Regions from separate parts of the Homo sapiens genome. Here region 2 is linked to region 1. The links are contacts of gene promoters, found by promoter capture Hi-C in blood cells and fetal thymus (Javierre and others, 2016). All regions are on one chromosome and are shown on one strand. Each heading gives the region's core, a stretch centred on a gene start or on the middle of the fragment in contact. The rest is flanking DNA. Distances are from core to core; before and after follow the strand shown.

Region 1 (7,695 bases), core at 2,994-5,493:
GGATTCCAAGAACCTTTGAGGAGACTGTGAGGTCAAAATTATTTTCACAGTAATGGTAAGACTCTATTTGCCTTTTCATTCTCATCTAGCATTAGTGTATAGTGAAGTTTTCCAGAGGTTGCATGACATGGGCTGTATCAAAAGAATAAATGCAAGCCGGAAGCGGTGGCTCACGCCTGTCATCCAGCACTTTGGGAGGCTGAGGCAGGTGGATCACCTGAGGTCAGGAGTTCCAGACCAGCCTGGCCAACATGGCGAAACCCTGTCTCTACTAAAAATACTAAAAGTTATCCAGGTGTGGTGGCGGGTGCCTGTAATCCCAGCTATCTGGGAGGCTGAGGCAGGAGAATTGCTTGAACCCGGGAGGCGGAGGTTGCAGTGAGCCCAGATCGCACCACTGCACTCCAGTCTGGGTGACAGAGCAGACTGTGTTTCAAAAAAAAAAAAAAAAAGAATGCAAAAACATACGAGATTCCAGTGGTTTTTCTCTTAAGCTAGACATTAGAGCAATTTGTGAAAATAAGAAATCAATTTTCTATAAAAAATGCTATTTATGTTAATATGTACAATGCCCATTATTATTATATTTTTAAATATGCTAATATTGATTAACATAACCTGTGTGTGTGTGTGTGTGTGTGTGTGTGTGTGTGTGTGTGTGTGTGTATATGAGGTTTTGGTGCTCTCAAGAATTTGTAGATATTATCACAATAAGTAGAATGATGCCATTAAAAGAAGGAAACAAGGACAACACCAGCTACCAATTTTTTAAAATTAATGGTGTTATAAAAATGTCTTCTGTGAATAGACAGTAGAGACTCAAAAGGGTGGAGTGGGATGAGTGATGAGAAATTACTTAACAGGTACAATGTATACTATTCCGGTGATGGCTACACTAAAAGCCAAGACTTCACCACTATGCACTATATTCATGTAACAAAACTGCACCTGGACTCCATAAATCTTACAAATAAAAAGAAATGTATTCTGTGGCACTCTCCTTCTAAAAATAGCTTGGGCTGTTTTGGAATAATTTTTAACTTATTATATGTGATTGCAAGCTCCTTATGTGCCTTGGAATTCAGAATTTCATGCTTCCACTTTCACAACTGACTTCATTTAACTTTATGAAGCTTGTGCTAAATATATAAATGCTTAAGGATATGTGAAAATCATTGAAAATGCTAAATTAAAATGATTTTAAACTAGTTTTAAATTGTATCAACTTTACAAAATAATTTTTTTCAGGGAGTTACGCTGTTTTCTACTCATTGCTTACTTAGGTTTATCGAAGGGGCAGATGAGAGGAGAAATTCCCTTTCTGAAACAAATGAAAAGGACACACAAAAATATTCTTCAGTTTCCCTGCCAATGTGTGTTTCCGCTCAGCCCTGAATTCACTGATTTTCTACCTGTCCTCACTCCAATATTTTTTAATCATCGGTTTTAAATCTTAATTCTGTAAACAGATCTACCATTTTCTTAGAAAATGAGGTATTTCTGGGAAGAACTGAAAAGAAATGGGGACTGGATTCATGAAAGGAACTTTTGGGGGCCTTTGTGAACAGGAGTTCTAGAACCACTAGGGAAGCTCAAATATTACTCCTTATAATTTTTGTATGATGTTATCTTCAATAAAGGGTGTCAATGTAGTCTTCCTGTTAGGTATGTCATAATTAGATGCATATAAAGGAGGAACAAACCCATGCAGCTTCTAGAACAACAACAAATCGGGAGAAAGGTAGGGTGGAAGTATCCTTCTGTCGTGGTTGTTATGTTCTTATGCTGACCTGAAACCATATTTTTGTGATTCATGAAGGTCATAAGAAAGATTATTTCCTTCACTGAACTTGGCTATTATTCTCACAAGTCAGTTATTCCCTTGGTCTCATTGGGCATGTTTTCACCCTATTTCCTTATCAGTTAGTGCTGGGAAGACAAGAACTTTGTATTTTATACACTGTACTGTAACATATAATATATGTAAACATGAAACAAAAACAGATTCATTGTGATTTCATTTTCTCCCACAGTGAAAGAATAGATTTAATCCTTTACCTAATTTGCATCCTTTGCTCTTCCAATCCTGTTCAATAATTCATCAGAAGGCAGTAACTTAGTGGTAAACAACATATTGTTTCCCCTTGTTGGTACTTAGTAAGCTTTAGCTTCTGCAATCTGTTCTCATGAAATGAATCCCATAATTCCTTTAATCATTTTAGTTACTCTTCTCTGGATCCATTCAATTAGATTACAACTTTTTGGCAGGAGAAGTACTTGAGTTGAACGGTCTTTCCATATGTTGTCTCAGAAGAGTGGTAAGAGAAAGACTTGTATCATTTACATTCATGGCTCAATGACTATATTCATTTTGACTAAGATAGCTTTCTGGATATAGTACAGATTGAACAAATGCTTGTGAATGAAAGTGTTTAATATGGACTTATTGACCATTTATTATTTTTCTAATCTATTTGTTAAGCCCTTTACTGACATTTGGTTTTTCCTTTGGAAAAACTGATTCTAAATAATGGTAATACTTTTAAAATATGTATCATGCTAATACCATAAATTAGGTTATACACCATATGTCCAACCAAGCTTTAGAACACTTTTTACAAAAATGGGCAAATCAAGGTTCAGGAAAGGATATTATAAAAAAATCATGGATACACATTGAGAAGAAGAGATTGTCAAAATAAGGTAAGGAAAAGAAGATGAAATGAATCAAATTGCATATTCAATAACAATAAAACTCCCAGGAGAAAATTTGGGTAAGTAGTACTATAAAGGAATGATTTTTTTAAAACATGTCCCAATATGTAACTGAACATGTAAACCAGCTTGGAGTTCTTTTCTTTGATATAGGAAAGGGAACATTTCTGAAACAAAAACGAAATTTTTCACAAAACATTTTTTTCCATAGCTCAATGGCACCTGTTTTGCATGGAGACAAGCACATGCAAGAAAAAGTTGTAAAAGTGGAAGCAAATGTGGTCTCAGAAGAGGATTGAGAAAAACTTAGGTAAGGCTCTGGTACAAGACATTGTGGGAATTAAACACCCTACTAGAGATCTGGGGGAAAGCACCAAGAGCAAGTCAAATACTAGGATAGGAGATAGAATCCCTTTTCTTGGGGAGGTTCAAGAGTCCAAAACAGCCATATTCAGGATGCAGTTTCAGGCTGGCATCAGCATCAGAACTAGGTCCAAATTCAAGATCTGGTTGTAGATCAGGCTACACAGAGCAGAAGCTTTAGAGTCAGTCATGGAACAAGTACCAATGGAATGGAAATAGGAATAGTTAATCACTGTCTTTAGGAAATGGGGCTTTTGAAATGGGCCAAGAGAGTCAGGCAGGATTGAGTGGTTGTAAGTATTGGCTTGGTCTTCCTCAGGCCCAGAAGACCAGGAAGAAGTGATTAGCCATGGAGACTATACACTTCCACATGGAAAATGCTTAGAGAGAATTTGGTTTGGTTCAGAAGAAACTGCATATCCTCCTTCATCAACAATACTTGAAGTTGAGTTGATAGCAGCAGAAGTGTGATTTCAAACCCCCTTTACTAGTGAAGAGAAAGCATTCCCTATTTCCTCTACTGAGTTAGGATTGTTTATGGGACCATATGGGGCAGCCTGTAGATGATTCTGTGTTCATTGTGCACAGTGGGGATGGTCTGGGATTTGTCACAGACTGACATCGGAGAATTGGAAAAGCTAAAGAAAGATATTTCAGTTTTATAATGAAGGTCCAGAATTAATTTGGAGGCCAGAGGGACCTAGAAAAGAAAATAAAAATGAGAATTACAAATGAGTGGATCTTTGCCATTGGTAAAAATCTGGGTCACTTATAGCTGTATTTTTCCATCTGTGCTTTTGTCTGTGGGCTTTGATAGCATAGTCGTCTAATAAGTGTTTCATCATCTGAATCTGACAATAGATATCATTCCAGAATACAATTGTTATGTAACAAAAATTCTGTATGTTGGAGAAAAAAATCAACCAACACAATTTTAAGCTTTGTATGTCTTTTGTTTGCAGGGAGTCAGGCGTAAACAAGCATTTGTCATTCGATTCTTCTAGTGCATTTCCAGCATACTGTGCCTTGGGCATGACACATCAGAATCTGATGTTTATCTTTTATTACCTGCCAGACCCCTCTGGAAAAGCCTCTATGGAATTCATCATCTGCAGTCTTTGTTGTAGGTACACATATAAATACATGTTGAATGCATTTGTTGAGGATATTGTGGTTTCTAACGCTGAACTTAAAAAGTGTTGAGATGAATAATGAAGAGGACCTTCTGCAGGAGGTATGAAGCTAATCATTAAAATGTTTTTAACCAAAATATTGACAGTAAATCTTTTTAAAAAATGTCAATTATTTGAATGCCAGTAAGAATAAGGGCAGCATAATTATACTTGTTATATGTCCACTCAGGAGAAGTTTATGAAGAATTGCCCTTCTGTACTACACAGTGAATTTATAAAGATAATAAAAACTAAACAATTCAAAATATTCATCTAGGAAAGCTCATTTGGTTTGAATAATCATTTAAGTTCAATAGGCACTGAGTTTCAGAAGCATAAGTATGCTATAAAAAAATTTATTTCTATTTTGGTTGTTATTGAGAGAATAATCTTTGTTTTTCTCAAAGCTTTGGCCTCTTTCTAATAAATATGCTTTGAGATTAAATGACTAAAGGTGGAAACCTGTTTTCAAATTATATTTGAAATGCACAGCATGAATAATGATAGCCACTTATAGGGTCTAGCATATATTAAAATAATCAGTTGTCAACATATAACATTTCTCCTCACTTCTTAATGTGTGTGTACCCAACCTTCACTCTTGTATTTCTGACTGACCATTCTGAAAGACTGAAGTGCAGACTTGGAGGCAAGCTGTGGTAAAATTTGGGAGGATGTGAGTTATCTTTAGTAGGTTAAGAAAATATAATGCAAGAAGCATACCTACTATGTGAAGAGTGCAGTGGAAGACCAGTGCATTATGTATGAAATAGTGGCATATAGAGAACAAACCTGGTCCCCACTTTTGCATGTAGTGGAGAAGATAGCTAACATCTAAGAATGGGTTCACTGATCTGTATAGTGAATACAAGCAGTTGTTTTGAAATAGAGTCAAGAACAAATGCACTTTCCCTAAGGGAAACTGGGCAAGGCTATGTGAAGAAGGCACTCCCTGAGGAGGAGCTGTGGCTTATCCTGTACTGTCATGTCACTGTTGTAGGCATCAAATGGTGGACATGTTTATGTGATTATAATGAATTTAGCTAAAAGTAAATTCATAGCTGCAAAGGAAGGCTTATAGAAAGAAAGTAAAGGTAATTAGCATATACATCATTAGCTTTTTGGGATTTTGATTTCTAACTATGTAACTTCTTGGACTAGTTTTACTTACTACTTCTGATCCCATGGCAGAACTCTGCTTTCTTCCCCAGCTCCCACAATTTTAGTCCAGGATTCCAGGTGATACAGCTCCCATGAAAGTCCTTAAAAGCCATGCCCTCCTCAAGACCAGTCTAGACCAAATGTTGATTGTTTACTCTTAGGAGAGCAGAAAAATGAACAATATGATTTTTAAACTGCACAATTCTCACAGCAAGAGACATTCTCTGTCTTTTGAGGAAAAGTTCCCTCAAAGTTGGAATAGAGCATTGTATTTACTAGATGTAATAAAGGTGAATCTTGGCTGGCCACTTGACCCAACTCCACTGAATAAGCTCTTTTATACTCTCCTGTATAGGTTCGCATTCTCAGGAAGTGAAAGAATATGGAAGGAGGGAGAGAGATGACATGTGACATTCCTTTTCCAGCTAACAGATGTTTGGAAAAGGACAAGACTGTGTTTCATGCTAGATGCTCTGGTAATGTGAGCAAGAGCAGCATGAAGTTAACTACAAAACACAGCAGCTGAACAAAAGCTCAGTGGATTCCGAAGGGCAGATTGTGTATATGGAGAAAATCCCTCAGAATACTTACTTCCCCAGTCTGAAGAAATTCTTTGTCAGAATATTCAGTAAAATGAACAGTTATTAATCTTAGGTTTGGTACTCCCCTAAAGAATATTTTACTGAGATTCTCTATTTAAAACAATGCTGTAAAGTCATGCATTCAGCTACATTCTTAGCAGTGGCAGACAAAAAATAGATTGAAAACACATTCTTACTTCTTAAAGTAGATCCTATGGGTGTATGAAATTGTGAAATTGAGTGAAAGAGTGGCATATCATAACAATTAAAATCTGTTTATCAAGAACCTTGTGTGTGGTGCTGAGCTGGGTAATATGTCAAGTGAGTAAGATCTGTTCCCCACCCTGCAGATATTTATAACTCAATACAGAGAACACTGACACAGGTAGACACAGTTCTGACGTTTCCATATCACAGAAGGAATGAATGCCATCTGGGGTGAAGTCAGAGACTCATCCTGCTCTGCAGCCTGTATCTGTTGGGGGCATGAAGTGCAGCCCCATGGGAGGCTCTACCTGACCTTCTAGAGGCTTGCTTCAAGAGGCTAGAGATTTACCTACCCCAGCTTTCCCTGCTTTATGCTATTGTCTGTGTGACTCTAGAGACCTCCTGATTCTTGTTTTGTATTTTCCATTTGTTTTGTCTCTGAGAATTCAGAAGATTTGTCTTCTGAAGATTTCAAGGTTTATAGTTCATTTTATAATTATTTACCTCAAACTTACCTACTTCCAGTGTATCAACTAGCTCTCCATTTAAGAATTCTCAGTGGAGAGACAAGACAAAAATTAGATTTGAGTTTCAAGGGCAGTGGATTAAGCTCGCACTTCCTGAAATGAGAATGCCTGCATTTTAATCTTGGCTCTGCTACTTACTAGCTGTGTGACATGGGGCAAAGTATTGGACTTCTCTGTACCTCACTGGGACATTAATAGTGCCTACAGGAAGGGATTTTGTGGAGATTAAATGAGTTAATACATGTAAAGTGCTTAGAACTGTGCTTACAATATAGTGAGAACTCATTAAAAAGGAGTCATTCATTACATATACTTTATTATGTTATGTTGACCTCTAATAGCTCTCCTGTTTTCATTTTTACAGCCTTAAAGAGTTTTACATGTTTTCCTTTACATGATAGAATTTGTTTGCTTATGATAGTAATGATAACAATTATATATAATATACCTTTTTACATAAACATATATCCATCCACTTCTAGCCTATTAAGGCTTTCCTAAGGCACAATGACTAGAACTATTTTTAGCAATCAGTTACAGGCATATCATAATTTTTTTAAAGGGTAGAGCACCTTCCCCTCTCACATTTAAAGTATTTTTATATTCATATTTGCAGTATTTTTATATGCTGCAGCAGCCCATTAGCTGATATCTTCACGAACAGTTCCATAACATTCTTGGATCTTTTTTCATACTATATTACAGAGCCCATTATCATAAATATATATTATATATACATGAATATTTAAATTTTTTCTACATGTCTTTTTACCTTTGAAATATTTTTGTTGCTTTTCTGCTCACCCACAAAGCCTTCACAAATTATTTTTGTCCTGTCTACATGGATAAATATATTTTTAGCCATACGATCTTAATTTCTCTAAAAAATATGGAGAATTCTTCTTTGATTTAATTATGAACATACTAAATAAAACAAAACTTTTTGCTTCCTTTATTATTTTAGTGTTC
Region 2 (7,695 bases), core at 3,828-6,327, 540 kb before region 1:
TTTTTGATTGAAGGTTTCCCTACAAGACATTAATATTCCCACACTTCTAGATTGCCATGCAAGACTGCTGAGAGTACAAGCTTTAGCAGGCATCTTAGGTGACAGCATCAGAAAAGCTGGAGGTTATAGAAAGAGAGCTTAACATATCAATATTCCATCACATATCAATATTCAATATTTTTGAGTCACAAAAAAATCCCCCTCGAGTGTTAGCTCCCTCCAGAAACCTTTTTTACATCAACAGGCATCAATACTTTCTATACCCCACCAACTAGTATGAGGTGATATCCCAAGCCATCTATTGGATCATTCACTGTTACTACTATGACCTCTAGAAGATTGTCTAGAATATACTTAATATATATTTATTTTATAAAGAAAGGCAAAAAGCAATCCAATAAGCCTAGCTGTTGTTCAATTACAACTACACTGTAGAAGAGGCACAGAATAACATCTGGGACTTTGCCTTTTTGCTAATACCAGAGGATGAAAAATCAGCTAGTTTTATTTCATCAGCAATTGTGTCTACTACATAGCACTTTTCTTCCAAATTATGTCCATATCTACCATCTTAATATGTTCTTTGGGGGACAATAGAAAATATAATTATCACATTTCCTACCTTGTTGATATTTCCACTGAGGAATTCATCCAGGGGTAATCGTGGCAGTGATGGCCGGAGCCGAGACAAACAAACACTGCAGATGGGAAGTTTGCAGCTGCTTTCCTTTTTAAACAGCTTTACTTTCCACATTTGTGCTCCTCATTCACACTTCCTGTTGCCTCTCCTTATGCAAGAATAATCTCTTCTTTTTTTTTTTTTTTTCTGGTGGCAGTAGCATTTATTAGAATGTTCTCTTAATGTATAAAGCCCAGCCCAGGTTTTTTTGTTTTCTTAATCACACCATTCTAAAGACAAAGGTGGAATGCGTTATCTCTTGCTCTCTTTTGTCCTTTCTATAAATATTTCATAATAATTTACCTTATCTTCCCAACTTAAGCCTCTCAATGGAACATGGTCCTTGAGGAAAGCAGTGTAACTACCTAAGAATAGGCTCCAGAATCAATCTGCCTGGGTTAAAATTTCCATTTTAGTACTGACTAGCCAGCTGAGTGACTTGGGCAAGTCACTTGGTCTCTCTGTACTTCAATTTCAATGAGTCTAATAATAGAACTTACCTTATAGGTTTTATGAGAATTAAATGAGATAATGCATGTAAAGTGCTTAACACATAATGGGCATATAGAAAATGCTTTTGTTTTTTAAGGGTGGTCAAAGTAGGATCCTTACCCTTACAGGAAACTGCTACCTCCTGTCATTGTGGGACAGAAGGCTGCATCTCCATCCCAGCTATTAAAAAAAAAAAAAAAAAAAAAAAAAAAAAAAAAAAACTCTCTAGGACATCAATGGAAATCAAAATTAATTTTCTTTTAAGAATTTTTCTAAGATGGTGACACTCTGCAGTGATTAAAGACAAGCCAAGGTATTACAAAATCAGGGAGGAAAGTAGAGCTCCAGGGACACGAATAATCACCAGGCTATTTAGGGACATGATACCTCTATAAAGCAGCTTAATGTCAGGCTGACATTTTGTAATGGCATATTTCAAGAACATGCAATTTTCTGTCATGTTAAGCTCATAACTCTTTTGATAGCATCCACTCTGATATGATCCAGCTTTCTCTCTCCAACTCAACAGCTGTTTGATTGCCCCACCGTTCAACACATCTTAGTATCCCTCATTTCCCACCATGTTTTAATCTTTATTTTCCAGTTCCTTGTTACAAAGAAATACTAAAAGGTCAAGCCTAATCCCAGACAGGAGCAAGGAGACAGGAATGAGAAAAAAAGTGCTCAAGAAAGTGATTCCTCTTTCTCTCTGTTGAAGGCAGACTTTGAATGGCCTGCACTTTTTATTCCATAAGAACTGAGGGAAGTTGCCTTTCCTCTTGCTCAGGGAAAAAGTGAGCACCTCCTGCCTTTCACTTTTTCCCTCTACTTCAGCATCTGTAGAGAGAAAAAGTTAGGTTGGCACATATTTAAAAGCAGCACTTATAAATGTGTATTTCAGTGTACACATTTCAGTTCTTAAAAAATAGCTTTGATGGGCCAGGCATGGTGGCTCACGCCTGTAATCCTAGTACTTTGGGAAGCCGCGGTGGGTGGATCACCTGAGGTCAGGAGTTCAAGACCAGCCTAGCCAAATAATTTACAGTAAAATCAAATTTCTATTTCAATACAACATATCAGATCAATTGTATCTTTATGGTTGTTTGTTGCTATAAATTTATTGATACCAGGAAAATTGTCACATTTAAAATTCTTAATAGTTTTGGCACAGGTGAAATCTTCTCGTTTTGCTAAGTCCCTGAGCTCTTTGAACAGGCTGACCTTATGCATCGGCCTCTTCCCCAGGCACCCTGGTCCCCTCTTTCCAGAATGCTACCTGCTCTGGCCTCAAGGCTACTTTTACTCCCCCTCACGTTAAATTTAGGTGAACATTTAATGCTATCACATATCTAGCCAATGGTGTTCTGCAGAAAACATGCAGCTTCTCTGACAAGAAAACTAAGAGTCCCCACCCCAAAGAGGACTTCATACCATTTTCCCGATGCTTGCTGACAAGGAAGAGGAACCAGATAAGGATATTTTTTGTGTATCCTCCTTATTATTCATAAAATTGCCTGTAATTGTCAGTGTTGTAATGTCTTCAAAGTTTTATGTCTCAGATGCTCATCAAAGCATTGGATGGCAAAAAGGTCAACATCCACATCAAACTTATTGGCAAACAAGTAGTGCTTGAGTAGCATCCAGTTCAAGTCTCCAGCTCCAGAAAATGCACACTGAGCACACGTGGACCCCATCACACGGTGGTCATGGAGCACCCTAGGAAACATACACTTAAAGTTCTACCACTTGACAGAGCTAGCAATTGCGTGCATGTCAGAGAAATAGTACTTATGGCTTTGAAGAGTAAGCCGGGCACTTCAGGGAATCCTCTGGACACTGGCCCAGAGATACTCATCTCATACAGATACAAATACTGTATTAGTGCACTCTTGATTGTACGTGGGTCACTAATGTACCCAGCTAAGTTTCCTATCCTCCCTTAGAGCTTAAAATGTGGCCATGGGACTAAATTCTGGAAAATCAGATGTAAGCAGAAGTGTTAGAGTATTATATTGACCTCTGGAAAATCTCTTGAAGAGTAGCATGACCTCCAAATCTTCCTTCTTTCTGAAGTCTAGAATGTCCATGAGATGTCTTGAATTCCAGAAGTCATCTCGGACTACGAAGTCACCTTGAGAATTAAAGATACATGCTAAGATGGTGAAGCAAAATGATGAAAGAAGTTTAAATCCTTAACTATAAAACCACCATACTAGCCTGGAAATGTTCAGTAAGAAACTTTCTGTTAATGACAGAAATAATTTATTTTGCTTAAACCTCTGCTTTTTAATAAGTTGTCTGTTATATGGAGCTAAATCTAATCGTGATATAAGTGTCAAGATTTCCCTGAACTACATATTTCAATATGTTTTATTAAGTGTATCTGATTTTGTTCATAAACTCTTAGACTCCTTCTCAAACAAAACCAGGATTTCTTGTATTATATTTATCTTATTTCAGTCTAATAGATTTGATAAATTATAAGTTTATAAAATACATTTTTGCAATCCAGTGAAACTGTGTTAAAATTTTTTAATCCAAAGAAATATCATGGGAAGCAGAAAAATATACAACCATATTTTTCTAAGTTAGCAAAATAATAAGAAAAGATATTTTATATATTTCTTTTGAACCATTACCTCTCATCTTAAAACTATTTCCATGAGGCAGTTTCTACTTACACTAAATGGAAACCAAATTAGTTTGCAGATTTTTACATCTCAATTCCTAGGGAGCTACACATCTGTTATTGTCCACTTTTACACAGAGAACAGACTATTCACTATCAAACTCTGACTGTTTGCCTCTGTCAGAACACTGACTGTCAGTAGAACACTAAACTCTCAAGGCCAAATGTTCTCCTTTCTGTTTATTCCAGCACTTTGTCATTATTTAGCAACCTCACAGAATTCTCCCTTCCGACAGAAGCATTTCCTGCTTTTTAAAAAGGTCTAAAATAGAGAGACTATATATTCACAGAAGGCAGAGTGGTCTCTCCTGAATATACTTATGGCAAATTGGTCTTGCAGACCATGTGTGGAAAGTAAACCTCTGTAGTTTATTCTCAAGCTCACCAGAGACTTTTACCTTGCAGGTCTGTCAGTCCAGGCCCTTTAGCAAAGAGTCATTGCTTCATATCAAATGAATACTGTCAGATCCCACCACACCTATCAGGCTCTGCTTGGTTGGTTTAAGAGCTATGTTAATGTGATGCACCTGCCAGTTAGCAAGCAACGGAAGGCACAAACACATTTGTGATACATAAAAAAAAAAAAAAAAAACTTCACTGAAACAAAAAATTAATTAGAGTCTGAGTAAATTTTTGCCACAGGAAAAACTGTGAAGTTATTTTGTTCAAGCTTTTGTTTATATTCAGTGACATGCTTATATTGTGTGTTTTCTAATATTTTGTCCCTTCATCCCTTTGACCTTGAAAGTGGCCTATTTTCCTTAGGATAAAGTAAGAACTGTTTAAAATGATGTGCAAGTTTTGCATGGGCAGACCTCAGCTAACCCAATAGCCCCCATCTTCTTCACCCTTTATCAGAACACTCTTTAAACTATTTTGCATTTACCTTGTAAACACTGGCCATAAATCATACCAGTCCTTTCCTCATACTCTAAGTTTCATGAAGGTAGACACCCTATCTGCCTCGGCCATCATCATATCTGCAGAGCAGTACATGGTGTCTGACACATGGTAGGTTCTGAAATTTTTTTCTGAGTTAAAAATAATTTAAAAGTCCTTCAGAATATTCAGCTATGTATGCTGTTGCCCTGAGCCTACTACTACACCTATACTTAGGAGATAATCATAAGTATTTGTGAAATTTTAAAAAGTATCTTAATAATATAATCAGTGAGTGAATAGTCTAATCTGAAATATTTCCAGAAGTATTTTTCACAGTACACTAGTGCGATAAGATACCCATAAGCTAGGCATTGGACTAAGTGCTTTACATTCATCTTCTTATATAATCTGTGTAATAACCCAAGGAGATACATCATTATTGCCATTGTACAGATGGAAAAACTGAAGTTCAGTGAGTTTAAATAACCAGTCTAAAGTGATATTGTTCATGAGTGGCAGACCCAGATCTGGAATCTCTGACTTGTCTTTCTTTAGATCACTACACAGTACTCTATTGCCCTTTCAGGAATTCACCATGTGCGGTAGCACAGTAAAAACTCTAAGAATTCCTGCAATAACAGCATTAAACCAAGGAATTCTTCTTTCTCACATGACAAGGCTTTCAAAGAGTATACCAGTCTAATGGTTCCCAGAGTGGAGTATACAGACTCCATTGTGATATTGGAAGAAAATATTAATTCTCTTTTTATCTCGATCCTTTAATTTCTATTTTTTGTGGGTTTCATGAGGTCTACATTATATGAGAAGATGTATAGAATTTTAAGTAAATAATGTCTGTGAAGCAAGATTAAACAAGCTTGGAGACCACTAATCTAGACAATTATCTTCCAAACATAATTTGAGATTTTTATTCCTTCTATTGATTTCATGGGACTGATTTCAAGTAACTGATTTCAAATTATGGTTAAATTATGCTTAAACTGCTTGGGATTTAGCATATATTATATACATAATTTATTATATAATTTCAACTAGCTGTGATTGATGGAGGAAACAATGAAGTGGCTTTTTTATTGTAATTATTATTATACTTTAAGTTCTGGGATACATGTGCAGAACATGCAGGTTTGTTACATAGGTATACATGTGCCATGGTGGTTTGCTGCACCCATTAACCTGTCATCTAGGTTTTAAGCCCCACTTGCATTAGGTATTTGTGCTAATCCTATGCCTCCCCTTGCCACCCACCCCCTGATAGGCCTCGGTGTGTAATGTTCCCCTCCCTGTGTCCATGTGTTCTCATTGTTAACTCCCAATTATAAGTGAGAACATGTGGAGTTTGGTTTTCTGTTCCTGTGTTAGTTTGCTGAGAATGATGGTTTCCAGCTTCATCCATGTCCCTACAAAGGACATGAACTCATTCTTTTTTATGGCTACATAGTATTCCATGGTATATATGTGCCACGTTTTCTTTATCCAGTCTAACATTGATGGGCATTTGGTTTGGTTCCAAGTCTTTGCTATTGTGAATAGTGCTGCAATGAACATAGGTATGCATGTGTCTTTATAGTAGAATGATTTATAATCCTTTGGGTATATACCCAGTAATAGGATTGCTGGGTCAAGTGGTATTTCTAGTTCTAGATCCTTGAGGAATCACCACACTGTCTTCCACAAGGTTAAACTAATTTACACTCCCACCAACAGTGTAAAAGCATTCCTATTTCTCTAAATCCTCTCCAGCAACTGTTGTTTCAGTTTCAGTTTTCTGCATATGACTAGCCAGTTTTCCCAGCACCATTTACTAAATAAGGAATCCTTTCCCCATTGCTTGTTTTTGTCAGGTTTGTCAAAGATCAGATGGTTATACATCTGTGGTGTAATATCTGAGGCCTCTGTTCTGTTCCATTGGCCTACATATCTGTTTTGGTACCAGTACCATGCTGTTTTGGTTACTGTAAACTTGTAGTATAGTTTGAAGTCAGGTAGTGTGATGCCTCCAGCTTTGTTCTTTTTGCTTAGGATTGTCTTGGGTATATGAGCTCTTTTTTGGTTCCATATGAAATTTAAAGTAGGTTTTTCTAATTCTGTGAAGAAAGTCAATGGTAGCTTGATAGGAATAGCATTGAATTTATAAATTACTTTGGGCAGTATGGCCATTTGCACGACATTGATTCTTCCTATCTATGAGCATGGAATGTTTTTCCATTTGTCTGTGTCCTCTCTTATTTCCTTGAAGAGTGGTTTGTAGTTCTCCTTGAAGTGGTCTTTCTCATCCTTTGTCAGTTATATTCCTAGGTATTTCATTCTCTTTGTAGCAATTGTGAATGGCAATTCACTCATGATTTGGCTCTATGTGTGTCTATTATTGACGTATAGGAATTCTTGTGATTTTTGCATATTGATTTTGTGTTCTGAGACTTTGCTGAAGTTGCTTATCAGCCTAAGGAGATTTTGGACTGAGACGATGGGGTTTTCTAAATATACAATCATGTCATCTGCAAACAGAGACAATTTGACTTCCTCTCTTCTTATTTGAACACCCATTATTTCTTTCTCTTGCCTTATTGCCCTGGCCAGAGCTTCCAATACTATGTTGAATAGGAGTGGTGAGAGAGGGCATCCTTGTCTTATGCCAGTTTTCAAAGGGAATGCTTCCAGCTTTTGCCCATTCAGTATACATTGAATATGGGTTTGTCATAAATAGCTCTTATTATTTTGAGATATGTTCCATCAATACCTAGTTTATTGAGTGTTTTTAGCATGAAGGGGTGTTGAATTTTATCAAAGGCCTTTTCTGCATCTGTAGGGATAATCATGTGGTTTTTTGTTATTGGTTCTGTTTATGTGATGGATTACATTTATTGATTTGCATATGTAGAACCACCCTTGCATCCCAGGGATGAAGTCGACTTGATCGTGGTAGATAAGC

What was found. The method cuts DNA at HindIII sites, captures the fragments that hold promoters and counts their contacts. A CHiCAGO score of 5 or more calls a contact.
Region 2: a contact is called between a fragment that was not itself captured here and the fragment with the promoter of LGSN in region 1, in 6 of 17 cell types (M2 macrophages, naive CD4 T cells, M0 macrophages and 3 more). The highest score is 7.8, in M2 macrophages.

Annotation. Positions count from the first base shown.
Region 1 is chr6:63,316,531-63,324,225 of GRCh38, reverse strand. LGSN (lengsin, lens protein with glutamine synthetase domain) reads left to right here and starts at 4,243. Exons shown (of 4, transcript NM_016571.3): 1 at 4,243-4,312. The coding sequence starts at 4,283. The HindIII fragment of the contact is 640 bases long and covers 4,020-4,659 here.
Region 2 is chr6:63,852,773-63,860,467 of GRCh38, reverse strand. All of the region lies in intron 36 of EYS (eyes shut homolog), which reads left to right. It also overlaps the pseudogene GCNT1P4. Among named protein-coding and RNA genes, the nearest start is that of SCAT8, 50 kb to the right of the region's middle. The HindIII fragment of the contact is 1,089 bases long and covers 4,533-5,621 here.